Linked DNA regions of Homo sapiens: regions 2, 3 and 4 are each linked to region 1. Evidence: promoter capture Hi-C in 16 types of primary human blood cells and fetal thymus (Javierre and others, 2016). All regions are on one chromosome and are shown on one strand. The core of a region is centred on a gene start or on the middle of the fragment in contact, and the rest is flanking DNA. Distances in the headings are between cores, read along the strand shown. Region 1 holds the start of GNAQ (G protein subunit alpha q). Region 2 overlaps VPS13A (vacuolar protein sorting 13 homolog A). Region 3 overlaps GNA14 (G protein subunit alpha 14). Region 4 overlaps GNA14 (G protein subunit alpha 14).

The links. The method cuts DNA at HindIII sites, captures the fragments that hold promoters and counts their contacts. A CHiCAGO score of 5 or more calls a contact.
Region 2: a fragment that was not itself captured here is called in contact with the fragment with the promoter of GNAQ in region 1 in 2 of 17 cell types (total CD4 T cells and erythroblasts); the score reaches 7.2 in total CD4 T cells.
Region 3: a contact is called between a fragment that was not itself captured here and the fragment with the promoter of GNAQ in region 1, in 10 of 17 cell types (naive CD4 T cells, total CD4 T cells, fetal thymus and 7 more). The highest score is 10.1, in naive CD4 T cells.
Region 4: a fragment that was not itself captured here is called in contact with the fragment with the promoter of GNAQ in region 1 in 3 of 17 cell types (total CD4 T cells, fetal thymus and naive CD8 T cells); the score reaches 7.9 in total CD4 T cells.

What each region holds. Positions count from the first base shown.
Region 1 is chr9:78,030,232-78,033,323 of GRCh38, reverse strand. It overlaps GNAQ (G protein subunit alpha q), which reads left to right and starts at 1,513. Exons shown (of 7, transcript NM_002072.5): 1 at 1,513-2,224. The coding sequence starts at 2,089. RefSeq lists an enhancer at 1,430-2,324. The HindIII fragment of the contact is 11,535 bases long and covers 1-3,092 here.
Region 2 is chr9:77,417,228-77,420,319 of GRCh38, reverse strand. VPS13A (vacuolar protein sorting 13 homolog A) reads right to left here. Exons shown (of 72, transcript NM_033305.3): 72 at 1-3,092. Among named protein-coding and RNA genes, the nearest start is that of GNA14-AS1, 29 kb to the left of the region's middle. The HindIII fragment of the contact is 1,204 bases long and covers 896-2,099 here.
Region 3 is chr9:77,433,285-77,436,376 of GRCh38, reverse strand. GNA14 (G protein subunit alpha 14) reads left to right here. Exons shown (of 7, transcript NM_004297.4): 3 at 1,855-2,009. Among named protein-coding and RNA genes, the nearest start is that of GNA14-AS1, 13 kb to the left of the region's middle. The HindIII fragment of the contact is 6,132 bases long and covers 1-3,092 here.
Region 4 is chr9:77,485,971-77,489,062 of GRCh38, reverse strand. All of the region lies in intron 2 of GNA14 (G protein subunit alpha 14), which reads left to right. The region is part of intron 2 of GNA14-AS1 (GNA14 antisense RNA 1); the gene reads right to left. Among named protein-coding and RNA genes, the nearest start is that of GNA14-AS1, 40 kb to the right of the region's middle. The HindIII fragment of the contact is 2,092 bases long and covers 390-2,481 here.

The sequences.
Region 1 (3,092 bases), core at 264-2,763:
AGCAAAAGCAGAGTCATGACCGTACCTTACACTCTGGATCAGCAGGTTGCACCAGGGACACTTCAGAGAACACATGAAACGTGAAAAAGCGGTTCTCTTCATAAAAGACAATTTTCTTTGAAGACCTCAGGTTCCTTTAAGGCAGGAAGCAATATGAGTTTCATCTCCTGGGCCTGATTAAACAAGATTATTTTCGTGTGCTATTTATCAGTAGACGATCACAATGAAATGTGCATACGACAGTTTACTGCCTCAATCACATATTGCAAATCAAAAAAACTAGAATGCCGTTTTGCTGGGGCCTCCTTAGTTTCTCTTCTATTTCATTCTTTCCTTTCCTTTTATTCCACATTATTTTACATTTTCCCATAAGTCATCCATAATTCAATCTCAGTCTAGAAGAGTAAATTCGATTACTCGGCGGCTAAACATCGTGTGCCTTCTCAGAAACAAGAGAACTTGTAAAACAAAAACAAAAACAACTTAAAAAAACAAAAACAACCAACAACCACCAAAAAAACAAAGGCATGAAAAGTTGGAACCTATCGGGAGGCTCTTGGAAACTTGGGCAGCTTCCTTTCTCTGTTCAGGATTTAGATTTCTATCTCACGTTACTTTGCGAACAGCTTCGCCTGTGAATCTCCCCCTACACCTCTGGGCACCGGTGCCAATTCCTTCCCTTCCCTTCCCCAGTAGCCCCACACAGTATAGAGGAGCTTATTTTCTAAGACTGCACCGGTGTCAGAGGTGACGTGAGAGTTTCTAACCGAATGGCGTTTTAGAAATAGGAACGGGAAACACAGAAACGGCTGAGGAGCGACCCCGTGGAGCAGACAGGCACAGCCCGGGAGCGGCGGACGCCAGCGCCGGCGCCGCAGGGAGCGCGTGCGGGGCTCCGCGGGGCCGCCTCCCGCGACTTCAGCAGGGGCCGCGGCCGCGCTCCCGGGCCGGTGGGCTGAGGCAGGCAGAGGCCGCCATATTCCTGTCTCACCACGCCCGGCCGGACGGCAGCCGCAGGTCGGCTGCGGCCCTGGCACGCAACGGCGGCCGCCGGCTCGGGCTGCGCGTCGGCGGCCGGGTCTGGCCCCGACTTCGGCCGGGGGCGGCCGTGACTGCTGCGCCCGCGGACTCTGCCGAGGGTGCGGGAGCAGTAGGCGTCCGCAGAGCCCGCGGGGGCCGGCCCAGCCCGGGAGCCGCGCGGGCGAGGCGAGAGCCGCACTGGGAGGCGCGCCGCGGCGGCCGCGAGCCCAGGAAAGCCTTCCAGGAGGGGCCGGGCGGCACCGCCTCCCGGCTCCCTCCTCCCGCGCCCATCCCCTCCGCCTCTTCCTCCTCCTCCTTTCGCCGCCGCCTCCTCCCTCCCGGATCTGTGCTCCAGTTCAGAGAAAGAAGAAAATGTGTGTGTGTGGCGAGGGGGAGGGCTCGCACTGAGCAGCCGCTCCGCGCCTGGCAATCGGGGCAGGGGGTGGGCGTCTGGCGGGGGCGGGGGCGGAGGCGGAGGCGGAGGAGCGCGCGGTTGCCGGGCGGGACGGGAACCGGGTCTGCGCGCGAGCCGGGCGGTGGGCGCGGACAGGGCCGAGGGCGCCCGGGAGCCGTGTCAGGCGGCGGCGAGGAGCGGGCGCGCCGGGCGCGGGGAGCCGTCGGCGGCCGCTCGCTGCGGGGACACCCCGGTGAATGAGCTCTCGCCGCCAGGCGCACGGCGTAGGGGAGCCTCGCAGGCGGCGGCGGCGGCGGCGGCTCGGGGGGCGAGGCGGGCCGCCTGTTCCCGGGGAAGGAGGCGCGGGCGTCTGAGCGAGGCCGGGCGCGGCGGCCTTCTCTCACGCGCCCCCCGAGCCAGCGCCCGCCTCCCGCGCCCGCCTCTCTTCTCCCGTCGGCCCAGACTATCCGCTCCCACCGCGCCCCCGGCCCACCTGGTGGCCCCGGCCCTGGCCGCCGCCCCCGCGGCGGTTCCCGGAGCTCGTCCCGGACGCGCGCCCGGGCGGCGGGGGCTCGGCGGCCACCGCTGCCTCGGGGGAGCGAGGGCGGGAGGGTGTGTGTGCGCGCTGTGAGCAGGGGGTGCCGGCGGGGCTGCAGCGGAGGCACTTTGGAAGAATGACTCTGGAGTCCATCATGGCGTGCTGCCTGAGCGAGGAGGCCAAGGAAGCCCGGCGGATCAACGACGAGATCGAGCGGCAGCTCCGCAGGGACAAGCGGGACGCCCGCCGGGAGCTCAAGCTGCTGCTGCTCGGTGAGTACCGTCCGGGGCCCCGCCGGGCCTCTGCGCCCCCAGCCCACCATCCTTGGCCCTGCGGGGCAGCTGCCTTCGGCGCCCCCGCCCCCCGGCGCCCGCGGTTCGCCCCTACCCTCCCGGGCGCGCCCCCGGCCACTGCCTTCACCCGCGCGGGCGCGCGGGCGCGTTACACACAGACACACACACACACACACACACACACACACACAGCGACACACACACGCAGCACAGGGGTCGGGGCTGCCCTGCCCGGTGCCTTGGCTTGTTCCTTTTCGTGTCCCTGAGGGCTGTACCTTATCTGCTGTGCATCTGCTAAATGGCAGATCACTCCGACCAGAGGCGCGGGGGTGGAAAGGTGGGCAGAGGGGTTGAACTTCCAGTGTCGTGGCCGCGGCACCCCATGGGGTGGTGGCGTGGGGAGCCGTGTGTGTGGCCCAGCGGGTGGCGAGCGGAGCCGGGGCACGTTGGGGGATGGCCTGCGGTGGAGTGGCCGGTGTGCATCCATTATCAGTGCCCTATGGGGTCAGGAGGGAATGGGGGAACGGTGGGCAGACTCGCAGCTGGATTCCCGGAGCACTCATGGTGAGGAAGCCAAGTGGTTGGCCCTCCAAGGAAAGGGTCTGTGTACTGGGGGCGAGGCGGGAGGGCAAGCCCAAATGTGTCACACAAGTGCTGTTCTCTAGCCACCAGACCATCGAAAGGAGGGAGCCTAGAAGAGTTGGCCAGTGGATGGTGACAGGCGTTATTCTCGTCTGCACCATTCCTTCTAGATAAAGATGAGGGTAGGGGAGCGTTGTGCTGTGTGGTTGTTGACAGCGACCGGTATCTTTTGTTTAATGAGGCAACCTAGATGTAGGCCTCAGTT
Region 2 (3,092 bases), core at 248-2,747, 610 kb after region 1:
ATCTTCTCAATGTGCTGGCCTTGCTTTTTGGATAGTCCTGAAACAAATACTACTTTAGACCAATTATGACAGTGGGAGAAAAGTTTGCTGTAACAGCCAGAGTGGCCAAAAATTGACAGTACAGATTACAAGAATCAAAATTTTAACCGACAAATCCTAGCTTGATTAGGTTGCCATTAACAATAAGGTATAATTTCAAAAGTATACTTCAAAGGACTAAGGAGGGTGAATGGGTTTCCTTTTAGAGTTGCGCTATACTGAAAAGCACCAAAAAAAATCAGATTGACTAAGTCTGTATTGAGTCCTGCATACAGAATGTAAGTTATTTACATTTTCTACTTGGATCTTAAAGAAATGAGGAAATCCACTGTTTTTAGTAAAAAGTCATTGATATTTGCATAGCACCCCCCAGACACTGAATATTTTGGCCCTACCAGAATGTGCCCTACGTATTAGCTCCCCATTTTTAAAGGCCTTTGCCACCTGTATGGTGAATCAGCCAAAAGGTAGATGGTGCAGATTCAACGGACTCAAAAGGACAATGTATGTCCCCAGTTCTATTATAGTAAAATGCTTAGTGGTAAAGAGGTTAAAATACATCTAGGTAAACAAAAGACTATGGCCTTTTTTGGGTGCTGTGTGTGGATCTAATTTTTCTATGCTTTTTCTGGTCCCACTGAATCATGTGAGGTTGCCCGATACACAGCAGAGAAGAAAAATATTTTAGAAACCAAGAGTGATTCCATCTTCTCACTCAAAAGAAGAAGTGCTAAGCATCTCTAGACTTCCTGAGTTGTGGATCTGCTGCTCCTTATCTAAGGTCAGGCTCCACACAATCCAGACTCTTCCAACAATCACTGGATGGCCGGTGCCTCCTGCAGCAGTCTTTCAAGCTTTCTTTTTTTAAATTGCATTTCATAACAGGAAACACTTTATATTGTGACCCAGTATACACAGTAAATAGAATATTTAGCTGAAACAGTATTTCAGGAACCAATACTTAACCATTTTATATGCTCTATTGTTCCTCTATTTTTTATTATTTCACGTTTAAAATATACTGGTCTTGAGCTGTTAAGTTGATTTCATGACCCACTAATGAGTTAGGACTTACAGTGTGGAAAAACAGCATCCCTGAGGATTTGGGTTGATCCTGACAAAAGGTAACAAGCAATGCCCTGGAAGCCGAAAAGATTCCTCTGAACTGTGTTGGCTGAGCCATGAAAGCATCCACTGTCAATGTATTTGGTACACACTTTGAGCTTCTACAGGCAAACTAATCAAGTATTTTGTCCCAATCTTTTTAATACAGAGGCCTACATGAGGGGGCACTTGGCATAGCCTGAAGGATCAACTAATACTGGCAAGTGATAACTGAATAATTTAGGTGCAGGAAATTCAGCACTGTGTAGAGTCCTTTTAATTTAATCTTTCTTTTTACCAGAGAGTAATACGATGCTACTATGTGGGATGTTTCTAAGAGATGAGCTAGGTGCATAGATATTCAATGGAACAATATTACCGCTATTACTATTGGAAGAAATGAGAGAGATAATTATGATAGAAAATATCACGTAAGTAAGTGTAAGAAAGATTTATTCACTTGGAGGCCACAGGATAGTTGCCTCCAAATGGACTAGGATTGTGGAGGAGAGGGGTAGGTAAGAACTGTCTACAGGTGGTAATGATTGTTTAGGGTCCAGATAACAACAACTCAGCCACACTAAACTGACCTTGGGATTTTTGTGAACACTAAAGGAAAAGCAGCAAATATGTATACTCTAAAAGGGAAGACACTGGAGAACTGTATGTGCCTTTTGGCTCAGAGAGTATTTTGCAAATGTGAAGAAATCACAAGCTGCTTTTGATCACAAGTACCAGAAATCAAAGTCACTCTTTCTGATTATGATTTTCTGGTGGAGAGTTGGCAGGGAACAGGCACTCTGCCTTAGTCCTCACACAATTATCATAGACCAGAAGACATGCTGTGCTGGAATTAAGGGCCTAGTAATATAGTTAGTTAGCAAATAATACATGGAAGGGGCACAAGACTCAACACCTCTCATTCCATAGCCACTACCAAACAACTAAGACAAGCTTAAATTTCTCCAGCAGAGAGCCATTTCTTGTAGTTAAATGTAATTTAGGGCAGATGGTTTTCAAATACAAGAAGATTCTTATTCTAACCTTCAAGAAAAATGGGCTACAGAATCAAACAAAAACTGTAAATTGTAAAATGTGATGCTAAAAACACTGACTCATTATCTAGTGATCTACTGATTTCTTAGTGTTTTTGTTTAGATGAAGACAATCTTCTAAAACAACAAATGATATGATGTAGCTCTTAAAACTGTGGGTCCCTCTAGTCTAGAGACAAGGAAGTGATGGGAGGAGGTGATGAGTAAACGAGTGGCAGGGAAAGGAGAGATTTCACGGTTCTTATGGCAAGGGAACAGGAAAGACAGGCACTATCCTTTCCATGTGGATTAGTCACAAGACCCACTCCTGCTGGCTGCCAGAGGGCACCAGAAGAATTTCTATGTTTACTATTTATGTAAGGCTTTTCTACTTCACGACACTACACCCAGGGAGGCAGGGGACTGTAATTTTTCTGAGAATGGTGAAATCATAACATTGGGTAATGAAGTATTTCGTTTTGGATGAGGACAGTCTGATGCAAGCTTTCTGACTACCTCTACTGTTAAGTTTAATTCTGACAAAAGCAAAACTGGAGGAGCTTAGCGACAGAGAAAATAAGCACTTTTTTTTTTTTTTAAACAAAGGTCAACATGGAAACACACTTTCATGTGATTTTAAACTTGTGGTTTGATTCAATTTAAGTTCAGCAAAGAAAAAAGCATTTTGGGGGAAACTACTGAGAATAAACAATGTGTTTTAGTAATCAGAGAGAAATCAATAGCATTTAGTAGATTTGGTCAGCAAGAAATACAATTACAATATAGCATGCTGTTTATTTTAGCTTTTACAACAAAGCGAGGGTTTAAGGAGCCTGAGAAGAATTTCACAACTATTGACTATACAGAGTCTTCAATTCCAAAAACAGTTAATAGTAACTTGGTGGCACATACAAC
Region 3 (3,092 bases), core at 182-2,681, 600 kb after region 1:
TCAGGTACCCCTGGAAATCATGGCTCGTTTTACAAATGAGGACACTGAGGCAGGTAACTTGTTGGGGTCCTTAAAAGTCCCAACTACACTGTTTAGAACTCAGGGTCCTGATTCCCAGGCCAGCGCACTTTCCAGTAATCCATCCTGCCTGGACCTTGTTTGAGATCCTACCTGCCTGAAGGTCCTACAGTCTCCAGGAAGAGTTTACATTCACTTTCCTGACAGGTGTGGGGAAAAGTCACATCGATTCATTCACAGTCCTTGGTTAGGATGAGCCAGGTGGATGTGTAAGATCCTCCTTTTCTCTGGCTTGCTGTTGGATAATTATAAGGATGAACAACGCACAATAAAAGTGACTTTTCAGGAGGTACCGTCTACACTTGAGATCCCAGCTACCAAGCAGATGGTTTGCTGACTCACAGCTGCTGCTGTAGCCAGCCCTGCTTGGTGATGTAACTGCTGTGGGATGCAGAAATATGGGAGGGGGAATAAGAGCCTGGGGTCCTGCTTCTCTTGCCAGGATTCACTTGTCTGCTACAACTTGCAGCCAAGGAAAGGATGCTGAGTCTCTGGGGCCAACACGGGGAAATGTTGTGGCTGCAGGCCAACCTTATCTTTTCCATTTTCTGAGGTTTGGAAAGATTTCTGGCTCATGCTAGCCTCCCATTGATTAAATGAGATAATGTATGTAGAGGCCTTGGCACATAGTACATAGCCAATAAATGGTAACCGCTGTAATAGTAATAATTACAGTAATAATGGCCTTAATTACTGTAGTAATAGAGCAATAATTATTTAATAATCATAGTAATAATAAATATGGTAATATAATAATCAGTGGTGTGGGGAGAGTAGTGCATTGGGAGGGAGGCTCCCAGTGGGAAAGAGTTGTATCAGTGATGCAAGAAAATGAAAAGCAGACTGTGTGAGAATGCGCTGTACTTGCCCTACAATTTTGCTGGCAAGCTAAAACTGCTCTAAAAAGTAAAGTCAATTATTATTAATATATTTTTTTTTTTGGAGACAGAGTCTCGCTCTGTCACCCAGGCTGGAGTGCCTTGGCACCATCTCGGCTCACTGCAACCTCCACCTTCTGGGTTCAAGCGATTCTCCTGCCTCAGCCTCCTGAGTAGCTGGGATTACAGGCACGCGCCGCCATGCCCAGCTAATTTTTGTGTTTTTAGTAGAGATGGGGTTTCACCATGTTGGCCAGGCTGGTCTTGAACTTTTGACCTTGTGATCGGCCCGCCTCGGCCTCCCAAAGTGCTGGGATTACAGGCATGAACCACCGCAGCTGGCCAGTGTTTTTTTTTTTTTTTTTTTTTTAAATGAAAGAACAAAATCCCAGACTGATGATAAGTTGTTATTGTGTTTCACTTCTCTAAAGACAAGGCGCCTCCTTATTGCCTGTACCAGGTGGACCAGTTTCTACCACCCAAACCTTGGTGTGCCATTTTTAAATGGCCTCATTGGCTATGCAGATACTCAAATGAGTCATATGTTAATGAAGAAGTAAAGTTTGCTGGTAGGATGAAAGCTCCAGTGACTCTTTATTCACCACTGGGTGTTGTTGAATGCTGGCGAAACTGGCCCAGGACATGGCTGGGCACAGAAGCTGCAGGTCTTGGGCTGCTGGTGGCTCTCTCCACGGAGCTAAGCAGCCACCTCATCTCCACTCAGCATGGCTGCAGTGGGTGTCTTGGCTGTGAGCGGCCCCTGGGAGGGTGCCCACCACGCCCCATGCCTAGTGAGAGCTCTCCAAATCCACAGACCAGGGCAAGACTTGTACCGACATTGCCAATGGGTTGGCTTCCTTTCCTTTGCCTGATGCAAGGTTCTCTTTCCTTTGAGTAGGAAAATGCCCAGATAATCAGAGAAGTGGAAGTGGACAAGGTCTCCATGCTCTCCAGGGAGCAGGTGGAGGCCATCAAGCAGCTCTGGCAAGATCCAGGCATCCAGGAGTGTTACGACAGGAGGAGGGAGTACCAGCTGTCGGACTCTGCCAAATAGTGAGTACAGAGCCCACCCTGGCCGCCCGCGGTGCTTTCAGGCAAGCTCGGCCACACTTCAAAGAAGTTTCTCGCTGAACGCTGCTGAAATGCGGTGCACAGTGGCAGCGCTACTTGCCTTTGCTTTCCCATATCCCTCCTGACCTCTTAGTGCCATCTCTCACCACCTCCTAAAGCCCTCGGTCACTCTGTGGATCGCAGACCTCTCTTCCTGCCGACACCCGCCTGCTCTTGCTGTGTTCTAAGCCTGTCGTTTTCAATGAGAGACTCAAATCAAATCTGAGGTCCCTTAAGTGGGACTGATCTCCTTAGGAGTGCTGAAATTATCTGATTTAAACAAGAAATACCCTTGCTTTTGGCTTCTACTTTCCTCCTCTCTATATCCCTCTGCCTTTCTGGTTTCCCCATCAGAAGACAGCAGGTCCAATTGCGCTAAAATCTAAAGTCAAGTTTAGAGCAGCGGGGCCGTGGACCCATCAGCTGCTGATCTGGTGCTGTCCTCTAGTGGCACAGATAGGAGGCTGCGCTCGCAGCACACACAGGAAGCTCAATCCTTTGTTTATTGGCTGCCTGCGAAGGCCTACACACTGTATTTTGGATCCATACAGCTCAATTTTTAATTCATTAATCCTTGAAGGTAAAAAGATTTCTATTTAGATGTCCCAGCATGCAAACTGTCCCATAGAGATGACAGATTTTCACTTTCTTGGGCATTTCCTGTTCACATCTGTAATCCCAGGGACTTGGGAGGCAGAGGTGGGAGGATCGCTTGAAACCAGGAATTCGAGACTAGCCTGGGCAGCAGAGCAAGACCTCGTCTCTGCAAAAATTACAAAAATTAGCTGGGCAGCTGCTCGGGAGGCTGAGGCGGGAGGATGTCTTGAGCCTAGGAGGTTGAGGTTGCAATGAGCCATGATTACACTCCTGCAGTACAGCCTGAGTGACAGAGTGAGACTCTGTCTCAAAAAAAAAGAAAATGTAAATAAATAAATAAATAATAATATCCCGGGGCAATGCCTCCTCAGTCTGGTCACCGGGTAAATAGTTTGATATGGGTCCTTCTTAAAGTGGCAATAACTCCTG
Region 4 (3,092 bases), core at 186-2,685, 540 kb after region 1:
TTATCTGATAAACTTCTGAATTGCTTCTCTATTATCTTAGAGATCACTGAGTGTCTTTAAAACTGCCATTTTGAATTCTTGGTCAGACGGTTTGTATATTGCCATCTCATTAGGGTCAGTTGCAGACTCCTTGCTTTGTCAATTTCAGGAGGCCATGGTTTCCTGTTTGCTGTTGTTTCATGTGATGTATGTCTGTTTCTTTGCACTGAAGGATTAGTTATTAATTCCAGTCTTCTCTGTCTGGCTTGTTCTGTTTTTTTTTTTTTTTTTTTTTTTTTAATTAGGTGTGTTTGCTTAAAGAGTCTTTGTAACTTACTATTTATTTTATTTTTCCTCACACTAAAACACTGCCTCCTTTTTGGCACTAGAGGGTGCCTTGAGCCCAAGCTTTTCTCAATTCTAGTAAAAACCAGAGTGCTGCCCATCTGAATGGGTGAGGTCCCAAATGGGATTCTTAGTAGTATGGGAAGGCTCACTAGGTGTTTGTGCCCAGAGGACCTGTGGAATGTACCTCCTACAGAGTGATGCTGCTGAACACTCTGATTTAACATCAGCTTTGGCTGAGTTACAGAGCAGAGTTTCCATGGTGGTGGATGGAAGTCTTGCCTCCCTGCTTTGTTTCTGGCTGTCCTCAGTGATATTTATCTTTTCAGGCGCTCATGATGCTTCCCATGGATTGAGGGAAGGACAGGTCTCCTGCCAGGGAACCCAAGAAGGTGGGGAGGCTAGTTATCCACCTTGATTTTACTCTTTCCAGTGTAGAAACCCTGAGTCAGGCAGAAATTTTCCATGCACTTGGTGCCGGGTAGATTGGAGACAGCAGAATCAAGGATATGGAAGTTCAGTTATCTTACCACCTCCTCACAGTTTTTTAAATTTCTCTGTGCCCCTAGGAAATATATCCTCCTCATATGTGAGTTCTAAGATATTGCTGGCTTTGTATTTTTTGTTCTCTCAGGTGGAGTGAAGGCAGCTTGCTTCTACACTGCTATTTTGGCCTGTACATTGCTTTAAGTGTTTTTTTTTCTCCCTGAATCTTCCACATTATCAATGACCTTTTTAGATGATGGTCCTGGTATCAAATGTGATGTCAACTGGGTTTTTCAGCTGTGTATAAACTGGCTCCAGTGCCCAACGTGGTATGTTTGGCACATTGTTGTTCCTAATAACAACTCTGTGAGACAGTGAGATCTGAGCGAGATGGTGAGACCTGGATGTGTCTACTGAAACTCTAAAAAGAGACTAGATCATGCTCAGGATGGCTTCAGTGGTAGGTACTTCTAATTCCTTCAAAATCTGTAATTCATAAATGGTTAATATTCTTACTGCTATTTACCCACAATTCTTAATGAACCAAAACATCCTAGTTTTCAGCTGTGAATGTGGTGTGTGTATGTGTGTGTTACATATGACTTGTGTTGGGTTAGGACTCAGTAGTGCCTATCTGTGTTTTCAGTATAACTAAAACAGCAACATGGTTCTCCTGTTTACATTTTTATGTCTCTTGGATTTAGCTTTATCATTTATAAAGTGCTTTTACATACTGGCTTATTTGGCAATTACAAAAATACCATAAGATAGCATTCCTATTTTATAGATAAGGAAGAGGAGATGGCAAAATGTCAATTGACTAGTTAAAGCTCCCTCAACTGCTTACTTTTTTATTTTTAATCAAAGTAACACTGGTACATAATATTTTTAAAAATTCTGTACAGCAATTCCCCTTCTCCATGGTCTCACTTTCTTGGTTTCAGTTACCCATAGTCAACTGCAGTCCAAAAATAATGGAAAATTCCAGAAAGAAACGACTTTAAATTGCACACCATTCTGAGTAGCATGATGTAATCTCATACTGTCCAGCTCCATCCTACCTGGGCCATGAATCATCCCTTCATCCAGTGTATTCATGCTGTATATGCTCTCTGCCTACTAGTCACTTAGTAGCTGTTTCAGTCATCAGATGAAAAAACATAATACAAGCATACCTCATTCTATGCTGCTTCACTTTATTGCAATTTATATATATTGCCTTTTTTTTTTTTTTAACAAATTGAAGGTTTGTGGTAACACTACATTGAGCAAGTCTATTGGGTTCATTTTTCCAACAGCATATGCTCACTTCATGTCTCTGGAAAGTTTTGATAATTCTCCCAATATTTCAAACCTTTTCACTATTATTATATCCATTATGATGATCTGTGGTCAGAGATCTATTATCTTCCTAATGTAATTATTTGGGGGCACCACAAACATGCCCATGTAAGAAGACAGTCAATAAACATTGTGTATATATGTTCTGACTGCTCCATCCACTGGCCAATCCTCATCTATCTCCCTCTCCTTAAAGCCTCCCTATTACCTGAAACACAGTAGTATTGAAATTAGGCCAATTAATAATCCTACAATGGTCTCAAAATGTTCAAGTGAAAAGAGGAGTCACACATCTCTCACTTTAAATCAAAAGCTAGAAATGATTAAGCTTAGTGAGGAAGGCATGTAAAAAGCTGAGACAGCCAAAAGCTAGGCCTCTTGCACCAAATAGCCAAGTTGTAAATGCAAAAGAAAAGTTCTTCAAAGAAATTGGAAGTGCTACTCTAGTGAATACACAAATGATAAGAAAGTGAAATAGACTTATTGCTGATATGGAGAAAGTTTTAGTGGTCTGGATAGAAGATCAAACAGCTGTAACATTGCCTTGGCCAAAATTGAATCCAGAGCCAGGCCCTAACTCTCTTCGATTCTATGAAAGCTGAGAGGTAAGGAAGCTGCACAATAAAAGCTGGAAGTGAGAAGAGGTTGGTTCATGAGGATTATGGAAAGAAGCCATCTCTGTAACATAACAGTGCAAGGTGAAACAGCAGGTGCTGATGGAGAAGCTGCAGCAAGTTATCCAAAATATCTAGCTAAGATGATTGATGAAAGTGGCTACACCAAACCACAGATTTTCAATATAGATGAAACAGCCTTCTATTGGAAGAAGACAACATCCAGGACTTTCATAGCAAGAGAGAAGTCAATGCCTGGGTTCAGTGCTTCAAAGGACAGGCTGACTCTCTTGTTAGGGGTTAATGCAGCTGGAGACATTAAGTTGG